2 separate regions of the Homo sapiens genome follow, and region 2 is linked to region 1. The links are contacts of gene promoters, found by promoter capture Hi-C in human tissues and cell types (Jung and others, 2019). All regions are on one chromosome and are shown on one strand. Each heading gives the region's core, a stretch centred on a gene start or on the middle of the fragment in contact. The rest is flanking DNA. Distances are from core to core; before and after follow the strand shown. Region 1 holds the start of ABHD3 (abhydrolase domain containing 3, phospholipase). Region 2 overlaps GREB1L (GREB1 like retinoic acid receptor coactivator).

Evidence for each region. Contacts are between HindIII fragments. The study calls those that stand out against the background at their distance.
Region 2: a contact is called between a fragment that was not itself captured here and the fragment with the promoter of ABHD3 in region 1, in 1 of the 25 tissues and cell types used here (IMR-90 fibroblasts).

Annotation. Positions count from the first base shown.
Region 1 is chr18:21,702,051-21,709,311 of GRCh38, reverse strand. It overlaps ABHD3 (abhydrolase domain containing 3, phospholipase), which reads left to right and starts at 4,538. Exons shown (of 9, transcript NM_138340.5): 1 at 4,538-4,808; 2 at 5,565-5,728; 3 at 6,814-6,996. The coding sequence starts at 4,647. It also overlaps a transcript of MIB1 not described here. RefSeq lists silencers at 1,857-2,057, 4,371-5,140 and enhancers at 4,131-4,200, 5,661-5,810. The HindIII fragment of the contact is 17,143 bases long and covers 1-7,261 here.
Region 2 is chr18:21,441,953-21,448,829 of GRCh38, reverse strand. GREB1L (GREB1 like retinoic acid receptor coactivator) reads right to left here. Exons shown (of 33, transcript NM_001142966.3): 11 at 4,421-4,606. All of the region lies in intron 1 of GREB1L-AS1 (GREB1L antisense RNA 1), which reads left to right. Among named protein-coding and RNA genes, the nearest start is that of GREB1L-AS1, 5.7 kb to the left of the region's middle. The HindIII fragment of the contact is 4,052 bases long and covers 705-4,756 here.

The sequences.
Region 1 (7,261 bases), core at 3,289-5,788:
CAGTCTCGCTCTTTCGCCCAGGCCGTAGTGCAGTGGCGTTATCTGGGCTCACTGCAAGCTCCACCTCCTGGGTTCAGGCCATTCTCCTGCCTCAGCCTCCTGAGTAGCTGAGACCACAGGCACCCGCCACTGCACCCAGCTAATTTTTTTTGTATTTTTAGCAGAGACGGGGTTTCACCGTGTTAGCCAGGATTGTCTCGATCTCCTGACCTCGTGATCCGCCCGCCTCGGCCTCCCAAAGTGCTGGGATTACAGGCGTGAGCCACCGCGCCCGGCCTCGCCACGACTTTTAAAGGCATTGTTCCCAACTTCTAAGCCTTGTTCTCTGGCCCTTCTGGAGTTTCATCAGCTATCACATACCATTGTAATAAATTTCCTTTCTGCATATGGTAAGCCCAAATTGACTTTTGCTGTTTGCTACTAAGAACCCTGTGTACCTGCTGCATCTGGAACCATCCCCAGACACCACACTTTTTGTAATGTAACTGCTTACTCCTCTGTTGCCACACTAGACTCTAAGTATTATTATGATTGGATCCTCAGTGCCCTGTAATCACCCAAGAAGACACTGATTGAATGAATGAATTAAACTTTCTGAGCTCTCATTTCCTCATGTATAAATTGGGAATAACAGTTACTTGGTTTTTTGGGTTTTTTCAGGCAGTTTCCCTCTGTCGCCCAGGCTGGAGTGCAGTGGCATGCTCTTGGCTCACTGGAATCTCCGCCTTCCCGGGTTCAAGCAATTCTCCTGTCTCGGCCTCCTGAGTAGCTGGGATTACAAGCACCCACCACCATGCCCAGCTAATTTTCTTGTATTTTTAGGAGAGATGCGGTTTCACGATGTTGGTCAAGCTGGTCTCGAACTCCTGACCTCAAGTGACTCAACTGCATCGGCCTCCCAAAGTGCTGGGATTACAGGCGTGAGCCACTATGCCCAGCCAAAATAGTAGTTCTAAAGAAAGATGGAGAATGTTTTTCTAACAGGAAATAAACTTGGACAACCTCCATCTCAATCATCTCATTTTACAGACAAGGAACTGAGGCCCCCAAAGAGTAAATGATTTGCCTAAGTTTGGTGGATAAGTTCAGAGCTGTTTTTTACTCCTAGGTCAGTACATTTTCTACACACCATGATGGCCATAAAATATTATAGGCATCAATGTTTGTATCCCCCGCCTCCACCTTCACATGTTGGAGCCCTAGCCCCTCAAGGTGATGGTATTAGGAGGCACGGCTTTTGGGATGTAGTTAGGTTTAGGCGAGATAATGAGGACAGGGTCCCTATGATGGAATTGGTGCCTCTAAAAGAGGAGGAAGAGACATCAGAGCTTCCTGAGAAGCCATCTGCAAGGCAAAAGAGGGCCCTCACCAAAACCCAACCACATCGGTACCCTGATCTCAAACTTCCAGCCTCTAGAACAGTGAGAAATACATGTATGTTTAAGTCACCTAGGCTATGGTATTTTGTTATAATGCCCAAGCTCAGACAAACATTTTATTCGATAATACTTTCACTTTAAACTTAAACTGGGCCAGGCACAGTGGCTCATGCCTGTAATCCCCGTGTGTCCAGAATTAGTGGGTTCTTGGTCTCACTGACTTCAAGAATGAAGCCGCGGACCATCGCAGTGAGTGTTACAGTTCTTAAAAGAGGGGCGTCCAGAGTTGGTTCCTTCTGATCTTCGGATGTGTTTGGAGTTTCTTCCTTCTGGTGGGTTCGTGGTCTCCCTGGCTCAGGAGGGAAGCTGCAAACCTTCGCAGTGAGTGTTATAGCTCATAAAGACAGCGTGGACCCAAAGAATGAGCAGCAGCAAGATTTACTGCAAAGAGCAAAAGGACAAAGCTTCCACAACGTGGAAGGCGACCCCAGTAGGTTGCCTCTGCTGGCTCGGGCAGCCTGCTTTTATTCCCTTATCGGCCCCACCCACATCCTGCTGATTGGCCCATTTTACAGAGAGCTGCCTGGTCTGTTTTACAGAGAGCTGACTGGTCCGTTTTGACAGGGTGGTGATTGGTACATTTACAATCGCTGAGCTAGACACAAAATTTCTCCAAGTCCCCACAGAGCACTGATTGGTGCATTTACAAACCTTGAGCTAGACACAGGGTGCTGATTAGTGTGTTTACAAACCTTGAGCTAGACACAGAGTGCTGACTGGTGTATTTACAATCCCTTAGCTAGACATAAAGATTCTCCAAGTCCCCACCAGATTAGCTAGATACAGAGTGCTGATTGGTGCATTTACAAACCTTGAGCTAGACACTGAGTGCTGATTGGTGTATTTACAATCCCTTAGCTAGACATAAAGGTTCTCCAAGTCCCCACTAGACTCAGGAGCCCAGCTGGCTTCACCTAGTGGATCCCACAGGGGAGCCGCAGCTGCCCACCAGTACTGCCCCGTCAGCCCCACACTCCTCAGCCCTTGGGCGGTGGATGGAACCCGGCTTGGCAGAGCAGGGGGCAGCGCTCGTGGGGGAGGCTTGCCCCGCAGGAGCCCACAGTGGGGCGGGGGGTGCGGCTCAGGCATGGCGGGCTGCAGGTCCTGAGCCCTGCCCCGTGGGGAGGCAGCTGAGGCCCAGCAAGAATTCCAGTGCAGCGCTGGCGGGCTGGCACTGCTGGTGGACCCGGGGCACCCTCCACAGCTGCTGGTCTGGGTGCTAAGCCCCTCACTGGCCAGGGCCGGCGGTGCCAGCCGGCGCTCAGAGTGCAGGGCCCGCCGAGCCCACACCCACCCGGAACTCCCGCTGGCCCGTGATCGCGGGGCACAGCAGCCCCGGTTCCCGCCCACGCCTCTCTCTCCACACCTCCCTGCAAGCAGAGGGAGCTGGCTCCGGCCTCAGCCAGCCCAGAGAGGGGCTCCCACAGTGCAGCAGCGGGCTGAAGGGCTCCTCAAACGCGGCCAGAGTGGATGCCCTGGCCTGAGGAGGTGCTGAGAGCGAGCGAGGGCTGCTAGCACGTTGTCACCTCTCACCAGCACTTTGGGAGGCCGAGGCGAGTGGATCAGGAGTTCCAGACCAGCCTGGTCAACATGGTGAAACCCTGTCTCTACTGAAAATACAAGATTAGCTGGGTGTGGTTGTGCATGCCTGTAATCCCAGGTACTCGGGAGGCTGAGGCAGGAGAATCACGTGAACCCGGGAGGTGGAGGTTGCAGTGACCCGAGATCTCGCCATTGCACTCCAGCCTGGGCAACAAGAGCAAAACTCTGTCTCAAAAAACAAAACAAAACAAAACAGAACAAACTTAAACTGAAATACGCATGCATTTATTGGTAGGTAGTGCAGAAGGCTGGTGCAGGGGTTATGAAGAATGCTATGAAGTTTCAAGTATGGCAACCAGCATATGCATTCACGTTTGCTATGTGTGCTCAGGTGTGAGAGCCAGAGCGTGAAAATTACTTCTGCTCACGGGGAGTCCAGTATATACACTATCTTGTCCTCTCGGGAACTCTATAAAGTAGAAATTGTTACGCTACAGATTATTAAAACAAGAAAAAAACAGGCTCAGTAAAGGTAATTGAATTATTTTGGGTGCTGCAGCCAACCACCAAGTTGCAATGACCAAATCGGAGCCAAATAAATTGCTCACTTCTGGTCCGTCTCATGTCCCCATCTAAATTACATCATTAATTTACAATCCTTTGGCATTTTTCATAATCTAGACAGCACTTTCCCTTCTTTCGTCTGTTTAAGTCTTGCCATTCTTCCTACCTCTCTGAGGAAGGAGTTCATAAGAGTAGGAATAGGCTATTAAATTCTAACCATTTCAGATAACCATAAGTATCCTGATTTATCATATTGCCATAAATAAGCCTAGGAGACCCTACTTCATAAATGGTTTCTTGTCTGTACATTAGGTAATCGGTGTGAATTTCCATAAGTCTCTAAATTCAAAGCATTAATGAACCACAAATAGGCTTTTAACAATTGAATCCCGGTTGCTATTCTTGACCTTTTCATTTATTTTCAGAGACCACTTCTCATTTAAGTGACACTTAGCAACTAAAAAGATTCACAGAGTGATTCAGAGTCGAGTATGATGTCCTCACTGTTGAATGCTCATAGAATATTTTTTCTCTTTCCATAGTCTTGAGGACCAACGCAAACGTCTAGAGGATGTGGGATTCTTACCTGCTAACATATCTTTGGCATTAACTCCCCAAATCTTTGAATGCAAGGCACGCTTACCTGACACCCTAAACTGCTAGTTTAGGGACACCCGCCGCAGAGCGGAATCGTTCAAGGTCACTGGGGCTGCAGGTGCGGGGCCTTAACCAGCGCTGCCGATCCGTCAGCTCTCGGCCCACCCTTGGGGATCCCCATCGCCCACTGCGACCTAGCTGGGAGAACCCAGTCCGCCCGCCCTCCCGGTGGCCGGTCTTGGAACCGCGCTTCTGGAAGGTTCCTGAGTGGCTGGCAGTGGGGGCGGCTCCAGGAAGCCGGGGCGGAGCGGGCGGCGTTGGAGTCTCGGGCTACGCCTCCCTGGGCCGCTCCGCCCCGCCCGTTGTCGGAAGCCGCGCTCCGCCAGGCAGGAGACACTGTGGTCGGGAGTAGGCAGCGGCGCCGCGTCCGCTCTCGCCCGCTCTCGCCCGCTCGCCAGCCGGCTCTCCTCCCGCCGCAGGACCCGCGCGCCGCGCTCGGGGGCCATGCAGCGCCTGGCCATGGACCTGCGGATGTTGTCCCGGGAGCTCTCCCTCTACCTGGAACACCAAGTCCGGGTGGGGTTCTTCGGCTCGGGGGTGGGCTTATCCCTTATCCTGGGCTTCAGCGTCGCTTATGCCTTCTACTACCTGAGCAGCATTGCCAAGGTGAGCCGGGGGTGGCGCAGGGCCGCGGGCTGCTGGGCCAGGAGCTAGGGTAGCAGGCGCGGCGCGAGGCTGCGCGGCCAGGGGCGGTCGGCAGCCCCGGGGATAGGCGGCGAGCTGCTCCCGAGCGGCAGCCCCCAGCGCGCGCGGGAAAGCCAACAGGCCCCGCCCGTTCGCCCGCCCCCTGGGGGTCCCGGCCGGGTGGTCCTCGGAGCGCAGCCTGAACCCGGCTGACTTCTGCGCTGCGGCGCTGCCCGGTCACCGATCGCGAAGCCGGCGGCGCACTCGGGAACGCCGTGGCGCTTTTGAAAATGACTCCGGGCAGGGCACGGTGGCTCACGCCTGTAATCTCAGCACTTTGGGAGCCCGAGGCGGGTGGATCACCTGAGGTCAAGAGTTCGAGACCAGCCTGACCAAAATGGTGAAACCCCGTTACAATTACAAAAAATTAGCCGGGCGTGGTGGCGGACGCCTGCAATCCCAGCTACTCGGGAGGCTGAGGCAGGAGAATCCCCTGAACCCGGGAGGCGGAGTTAAAAACAAACAAACTCCCTTATCGCGATTCTCGCCTTCCCCTCGGGGCATTGGCGAAACCCCCGTTTCAGTCCTCTGTGACTGTGAATTTTTTGCGTCAGCCCTCCAGAAAGAGTTGTAATCGGAGGAAGCGCGCGCGCGAGCGACAAGTCTTTGCCGGTTTCTGGTTTACGGTTGGCAGAAACTTTGCTCTGGGCCCTTCTCTGATACTGCTTTTCCCTTCAGAAACCCCAGTTAGTGACCGGGGGTGAGAGTTTCAGCCGCTTCCTTCAAGACCACTGTCCCGTGGTTACAGAAACGTACTACCCGACGGTCTGGTGCTGGGAGGGTCGAGGACAGACCCTGCTTAGACCTTTCATCACTTCGAAGCCCCCGGTGCAGTACAGGAAGTAAGTGAATTTCCGTTTTCAGTCATTTCTGCAAAATCACAGGTTGTTTGTTTGCTTGCTTGCTTATTCCCAGTTCTTGGTTAATAGAATCTGCTTTAGGAAGTATATAGAACAGAAAGAGGGAATGAAAATGGAAGGTACGTCCCCGGCTCCACCCCCAGCTGCAGGAAAATACCCCAGCTGCAGGTATTTGCCTCCTGGTCCCCGCCCTAACCGCCAACCTGATGTAAATGGTTTATTTTTAGGATGAGAGAAGTGTTTGGGGATTACTGTCTCGCAGTTTGTCATACATCTGTCAGAAAGACCCAGATCTTTTGATGATCTGCATTCATTCATTGATAAGTAGCAGATACTGGGGGGGGGGGTGGGGTGAGAAGGATGCCACTTAATTTGGGTTTTGGGCGATTTATTGGTGTAAAATGACTTCCTATTGACAGGCAAATGGGATCTTGATGATAATAGCTCTTGATGTGTTAAAGATACGGTCCAGGATTTATCAGGAACCAGATTTAAATGGTGCCTGTTATTAATTTCCCTTAGTCATCTATCCTTCTGGAGTTTATTTTGTTGCCTGGAACTTGCACTGTTTGTTTGGGAAAATTCTGTAAGTTCATGAATACTATGTGAGAAATAATTTAAATTATTTCAGAAGAAAATCTTGAAGTATACTATACAAGGAGACTGCATTATTGAGTCCAAAGAGCTAGAGCAGTGGTCAGAGATTAGATCAGCATTTTACTTACTCAGACTTCCCTGTCGCATTAGTTGAGTGACCTCAATCAAACAAGGGTTAAATGCTGGATGTTTTGGAGTAATGAGTAAGTATTCATTTATCTTAATAATTAGCAGTTCATTTTTATATACGACCTTGTACGGAGGTTGCTGGAAATACTTGATGGTACTAATCTTCATAAAATCCTTCTAATGAAAGAAAATGATATGTAGATCGAGATATGGGTGTGTGTTCGTGAATGCTGGAAAAATGTTATTTTTTGATGAGCAAATAATGTCATGTGTTTAGAATTAAAATTAAGACATGACTTAAAACATGTAAATAGTAATGTCTTCTGAATTATTCCTTTCAGTGAACTTATTAAAACTGCAGATGGAGGACAGATTTCACTGGACTGGTTTGATAATGATAACAGTACGTGTTATATGGATGCCAGCACCAGACCTACTATCTTATTGTTGCCTGGCCTCACGGGAACAAGCAAGGAGTCATATATCCTTCATATGATCCATCTTAGTGAAGAATTAGGATACAGGTACCAGTAAAAGATTTCTTTTTTTTCACTTGATCCATTCCAAATGAAGTACAAATATATCTACATGTTTGTTTCAGAAATACTTAGTACTTCTTGCATAGAAAAGCAGTCCCTTAAATTATTATTTTTCTCTGCATTCTTTTTTTCCTCTTTCTTTTCAGGAAGATGCATAACTGAATCATCTCACAAGAAATGTCACTTAGCATAGTAGACACTCTGCAGATTTAGGCTGAGTTAATGAATGAAATTAGAATCATCTGAGCAT
Region 2 (6,877 bases), core at 1,481-3,980, 260 kb after region 1:
TCAGGGGGATTTTCTTCCTTATTCTCTTTAGAAACTCAACCAGCCTTTAGAACAAAATAAGCAAGTCAATGTTTGGTATCCAAATGACACAAATGAACTAAGATTTCAACATTTAGTTTAAATTGAAAGCAGTGAGAATACAGTCACTCCCTCTATTCAATCATTTCTTTTGCTGTGTGAACCCAATATTTGAAACTCAGGCTCCCATAAACCAGCTCAGACACCTCAGTGTCTGTGATCTGAGACCAAGCAACAGCCCCAGAACCCATGGCTAAAAGCCCCTTATGGAAGAACAAAGGGGTGATGGGCTGGACTTCTGCATGAGAAGGAGGCACCACAAATGAGTCAGACCCATTCCTTCCTCTAATAGGGATCTAAGTGGTTTCTCTGGCCCTTCCCATCTTTTCTGGGAAAGTAAGAAAATGAGGTGTTTAGTAATGCTCTTCAGATATGGAAAATTAAATAAAATCTTATACATTATAAAAACAACAATTTTAATTGGAGAAAACAGTTTTTCCAGGATTGGGTGGAGGCCAGGGAGAGGTAGGAGAGTAGAATTCTCATAAACAGATTTTTCTCCTCTATACATGGAAACAGGGCAAGAAAATGGTAATGTATACATTATGTCTGTGTTTCTTCTATGCTGCTGCTGCTGCTTTTTTTTTTTTTTGAGACAGTTTCCCTTTGTCATCCAGGCTGGAGTGCAGTGGCGCGATCTCGGCTCACTGCAACCTCCACCTCCTGGCCTCAAGCAATTCTCCTGTCTCAGCCTCCGGAGTATCTGGGATTACAGGCATGCCCAACATGCCTGGCTAATTTTTGTATTTTTGATAGAGATGGGGTTTCACCATGTTGGCCAGACTGCTCTCAAACTCCTGACCTCAAGTATCCACCCTATTCAGCCTCCCAAAGTGTTGGGATTACAGGTGTGAGCCACCGTGCCTGGCCTCTACTGTCCTCAAAAAACTTGCTGGGAATGTGGAGGGATGCTCTTTAAAAAAAAATCACCTAGGAGCCACCAAGATGTCTGATCTTCATTCAGCTTTATCAAATTGGCATCATGGTTAATTGTCACTAGGTAAACACTTTTCAGTGAGCTCAAAGTGGATAGAAGGTGGTCATTTATTTAACGCTTTCTTCCACCAGAACATGACAGCTGAAAAGCAGGTGGCCCTGGCTGTCTCCAATTCCCTACCGTCTTTCATTAACAACCTGAAAGCTCAGGGGCCTGGTTAGTAGTCCATAAGACTCACTCCAGGACTAAGTAACATATTCTATCAGGAGGCATAATTAATTGAAAGCACAAAGGCATTCTGGGAAAATAAAATTACTAAACATGTTCACAACATCCTTTGTTGCCTTAAAGCTCGCTTTTATACAGTTTTGACTGATGTACAATTAGGAATCAAGAAGTGGAGGAAAAGGTATTAAGTTTAAATGAGGTAAGAGACTTCTTAGAGTAAAATGCCTTGTTTCCAAAAATCAACTATCACTTTTTCATCCTCAGCCTTTTAAAAAAATTTTTTTTTTAAATTTTTTTAATTAGAGACAGGGTCTCTGTCTGTCTGCCAGGCTGGAGTACAGTGGCACAATCATAGCTCACTGCAGTTCTGAACTTCTGGGCTCAAGTGATCCTTCTGCCTCAGCCTCCCAAGGTGCTGAGATTACAAGCGTGAGCCACCACACCCAGTACCTCATCCTCAGCCTTTACAATTACATTGCAGGTGTCTTTTCTCCACTTTCGCAAGCTTGATAACAATAATCTTTTCCTTCAAGTGCTGATCTCCAATAACTTAGGTTAGCTGAGGTATCAGTTTTAATGACTTTTCAGAAAGAACTACCTTAATAGGAAAAGTCAAGGTTTAAATAGACTCAGAGCCTTACAAGAATCTCTGGATTTGCTGATTTCATTATCTACTTCAAAGATTTTCTGACTGTGAAATGACTGAGATTTTTTAAAAGTGACTGTAGTGAAGAGGTATGGTTCCTTCTGAAGAATCTTGCTTTTCTTCTTCTCTGATACCTCTAAGTAACTGAGCCGCTGAAGTATTAAAAATCCTTTTAGAAGTTTAGATTTATTTTTTTAAATGTCTATAATCTATGCCATATGTGAAACTATTCTTGCTTGCCTTCTTGAAACCTCCAGAGGCAAGAAATAAAGAAATAAATAAATAATAAATAAATAAAGGACTCCAGAACAGTTGTTGAGGGATAGAGATGTCTCAATGTACAAAGCTTAGGTTTTAAAAGAGAAATAGCTATTCATGTATATCGAGAGGCCTAACTGATTGACTGCAAGTCAAATTCAGGAAAGAACTGATCCTGCAGGTCAGAGAAGAATCTGTGTAATTAAATTGAAATTGTTTCTTTTTTTCTTTTCTTTTCTTTTTCTTTACAAAAGATAAGAGCATTTAGTACTTTAAGAAAAGATATCTTATTTTGACCACTTGGTTCATTTAATTAAATTAGACTCCGATTTTAAAAATTGCTATTAAGATTGAAAAGGAGGCCGGGCGTGGTGACTCATGCCTGTAATCCCAACTTTGGGAGCCCAAGGCAGGTGGATCACCTGAGATCAGGAGTTTGAGACCAGCCTGGCCAACATGGTGAAACCCTGTCTCTACTAAAAATACAAAAATTAGCAGGGTGTGGTGGTTCACGCCTGTAGTCCCAGCTACTCGGGAGGCTGAGACATGAGAATTGCTTGAACATGGGAGGTGGTGGTTGCAGTGAGTCGAGATCGCACCACTGCACTCCAGCCTGGGAAACAGAGTGAGACTCGGTCTCAAAACAAACAAACAAATAATCAAACAAACAAACAAACTGAAAAAGAGTGCTATAGTGATTTTCTTGGTTGGCTATATCATCACTTTATGAAGCCTGGTTTTACTAATTCTGGGTGCATTTAGAAGTTGGCTTTAGATCTTAGAACACAGTCTATAATCTAATTTCAGTATGTAGCAATTAAAATTATGTCATCAAATGAGCTGTGGACCCAGATGAGCTTTATAATTGTATTACCTTTCAATAAGCATCATTAGTAAGTCCTAGGTTTATCATGAAATTGGTGCCTTGTAAATTTCAAAAGGCCATGTCGAAGCAGAGGCCAAGTCAAGGCAGCCTCTCAGGGCACAGAGTTCTAGTCAAGATTGCTAGCTAATGCACCAAACACTGAATATGCCCTAATAAAGCTTTTTTCTTTCTTTTAAAGTTATTTAGTCCAGTGTTTTTATTATCTCCTAACACTGAAGTATTTTCTAAAATTAAAAAATTTCACAAGAGTGCATACTAATATTTTTATGTGTAATTTTACATCTCAAATATTTTTTTCTTTTCTTTTCTTTTCTTTTTTTTTGAGATGGAGTTTCACTCTTGTTGCCCAAGCTGGAGTGCAATGACGTGATCTGGGCTCACTGCAACCTCCGCCTCCCGGGTTCAAGCAATTCTTTTGCCTCAGCCTCCTGAGTAGCTGGGATTACAGGCATGCGCCACCACGCCCAGCTAATTTTGTATTTTTAGTAGAGATGGGGTTTCTCCATGTTGGTCAGGCTGGTCTCGAACTCCCCACCTCAGGTGATCCGCCCACCTTGGCCTCCCAAAGTGTTGGGATCACGGGCGTGAGCCACCGTGCCCGGCCACATCTCAAATATTTTTCTAAGTAAATCAGTGGCTTGAAGTGATAGAGTGAGTGTATAATTAGATGGCCTACTGCCATTTGCAAAATAAAGGACATTTCGATGTAAATGCTGCTAAGCCACTCTAGTATTGTCAGGGCACCTGCATACACCCACTTTGGGGCTTCGGAGAATATATCAGATAGAGGAAGTGAAGGGTTCATGACCTACATATCCCCCTTACCCTATAGCTTAAAGACCTTCCAGGGAGGTCCACAGTTATGACCTCAATGATGGAAAGCACGATGGGACTCCATCAAAGGGGTGTAGCTGGAGAAGAAAAAAAATGGGTGTAGGGCCAGTGGATAAACAAGATAAAAAGGCTAAGTGGAAAACTGGAAAATAATTGTTTAAGACAATGGCTGTGTTTGCACTCCAGATGGTAGGTGCACTTTCAGAAAGGTGGCCTGGCCAAGCTCCCCAGAGAAGGGGTGCTCAAGGCACAACCCTTTAAGGTTCTGCCTACCTTAACTACTTTGGAGACCTTTGCAGCATCATGAGACTGGACACTAGGTGGTGCAATTCATCTCCTCTAGGACCCAAAGAAGAGGAAAGGAAAGGAGTAGAAAAGAAATGAAGGAGAGGAAAGGGAAAAGTTACAGAGAATGGGGTTGAAGGGAAAGAACATTAGAAGCGAAAGAGGGAAAATAAGAGATAGGAGGATAAATGTGAGAAAGAAAGAAAAAGTACATCACAAAAAATCCTCAAAAGTAGTCACCAGCAAATGATTATGGAAAATGACTTACCCAGCCGCACAAGATACTGTATCGTCAGAAGAATCATGTTTTCCACGCTCAGAAATTGGCTGCCGGTCAACCCTAATTTTTCCAAATCTTTGTTTTCCAACTGTGGAATCTTGTAGCAATTCACCAGCAGAGGACTCACAACAATGTCACCAACATTTCCATAGAAATAGGGTAAAGTGCCATAGCCTGTCCCAATAGAAGCAGGTCAGTACAGTTCAACATTTCTTTTTATGGTCCAACCAGGTACACTTGCTCAACGACGATCAAAGCTGCTTAACAAAATTCCCTGCCCTCTGAGATAGCTACCAAACAAATCACTCAAACATATCAATCCCAGGGAATTCACTTGGATGCTCCAAATTCTATCCTTATATTAAGTTAAATGAACAGGAAAGAAAATACAGTTGGCCCTCTATGTCTGTGGGTTCCACGTTCAATCAACCGTGGACTGAAATAGTCAGAAGAAAAAATTCCACAAAGTTCCAAGAAGTGAAACTTGAATTTGCTGTGGGCTGAGTAGTACACTGAATTCATGTGAATGACGTGATGTGTAGGCACTGTATTAAGTATTACAAGCAATGGAGAGGTGGTTTAATGTATATGGGAGGATGTGCATAGGTTATATGCAAATACTGTGCCATTTTATATGAGGGACTTGAGGATATTCGATTTGATATGGGACGGGGCCTGGAATCAATCCCCCAGGGATACTAAGGGACAACTGTACTCATATTATCTCTGTTTCTCATGGAAGGAACATGTTAATATTTTGCTGGAAGACTGATGAGTTTGCAAAACATGTCTGTATCCTCTGTAAAACTGCAATGATAAAATATTTCTGATAAAGTCCCTGATCAAGTTTATTTTCAGATAAGAAATCAGAAAACAAACAAATGACAATATGGCTGGGCAAGGTGGCTCACGCCTATAATCCCCGCACTTTGGGAGGCCCAGGCGGGTGGATCACCTGAGGTCGGGAGTTTGAGACCAGCCTGGCCAACATTTTCACCTTTAGTAGAGGCGAAACCCAGCCTCTACTAAAAGTACAAAAATTAGCCAGGCATGGTGGCATGCAACTACATGGGAGGCTGAGGCAGGAGAATCGCTTGAACCCAGGAGGCAGAGGTTGCAGTGAGCCGAGATCGCGCCACTGCACTCCCGCCTGAGCCACAGAGAGAGACTCCGTCTCAAAAACAAAAAACACTGGCCAGGTGGGGTGCAGCTCACGCCTATAATCCCAGCACTTTGGGAGGCTGAGGCAGGCAGATTGCTTGAGGTCAGGAGTTGAGACCAGCCTGGCCAACATGATGAAACCCCATCTCTACTAAAAATACAAAACTAGGCTGAGCGTGGTGGTGCACGCTCGTAATCTCAGCTACTCAGGAGGCAGAAGAATCACTTGAACCCAGGAGGCGGAGCTTGCAGTGAGCAGAGATTGTGCCACTGCACTCCAGCCTGAGTGACAGAGCAAGACTCTGTCTCAAAAAACAATGACAAAAAACAAAAACAGAAACAAATGACAATACATGTTTCACTTCCTGAGATTTCCTTTCCTTTCCCCTTTCCTTTCCTTTCTGACACTATCCACCTGGAGATATTCCTGAGATTTTCTTTAAAAAAAAAAAAAAAAAGTAAGCTAAATTCATTGATTAATAGCAAGATTCTTCTAGTTTCAGGTGCTTGGAGATCCCTGTTCCTTTGTTATCTTAGCTATTTTTGTGAGGTTGTCTTCCTAAATGTCAGTAAACAGTCTCAAATTGTTTTGAAATAGATAGGATAAAATATGTCCAAAATATGCTCTGTTTTGGTGGTTGATGGAGAGGATAGTCCCTCTGTGAGACTTTCTAAAAGGCAGGCACCAAAGGACCAAAGGGTCCCACGTTCTATGCATCTTTCCAAAGCTTAGTGGCACTATGTTAATGTTCAAAAAGAGCTTCCTAATCTATACAGCATTTAAGCAACTGGGATCCCCTCAGTACCTACAGATCTAGGATTAGCAGATAAAGCAACCAGGTAAAGGACATGACTCCAAGCAAAACCATCCAATTAGGCAGGCTCAGGCCAACCCAAAAAGCAAATAACACTGCATGTAAACACACCCTAAAGATGTGGGGAACTTAAACACCCTATCTATTTTGTCCTTAAGGTAGAGCAAGCAGTCTCCTTCTGGCCTAGGCCAGCCCTAAACCAAGGAGTCTCCTGAAATGGGTATGAAAAGCACTAAGTTAGTCCTGGAATGTAGGGACCCCTAAATGTCTATACCTCCACTTGTAGACCACCTGGAAGGACTCAGCCTCCTCAAAGATGCTAAGGTTCAGACCTGCAACTGTAGGGCCTCTTGGTTCTCTTGAGTAGGGTCTTTCAGCTGGCTTGGCTTGTTTCATTTCTTTGTGGTTTGGCTCCCTTTGACTGGAATGTCTCCTCCCTGACCTTGTCCACTTTGACCAACCTTCAGGA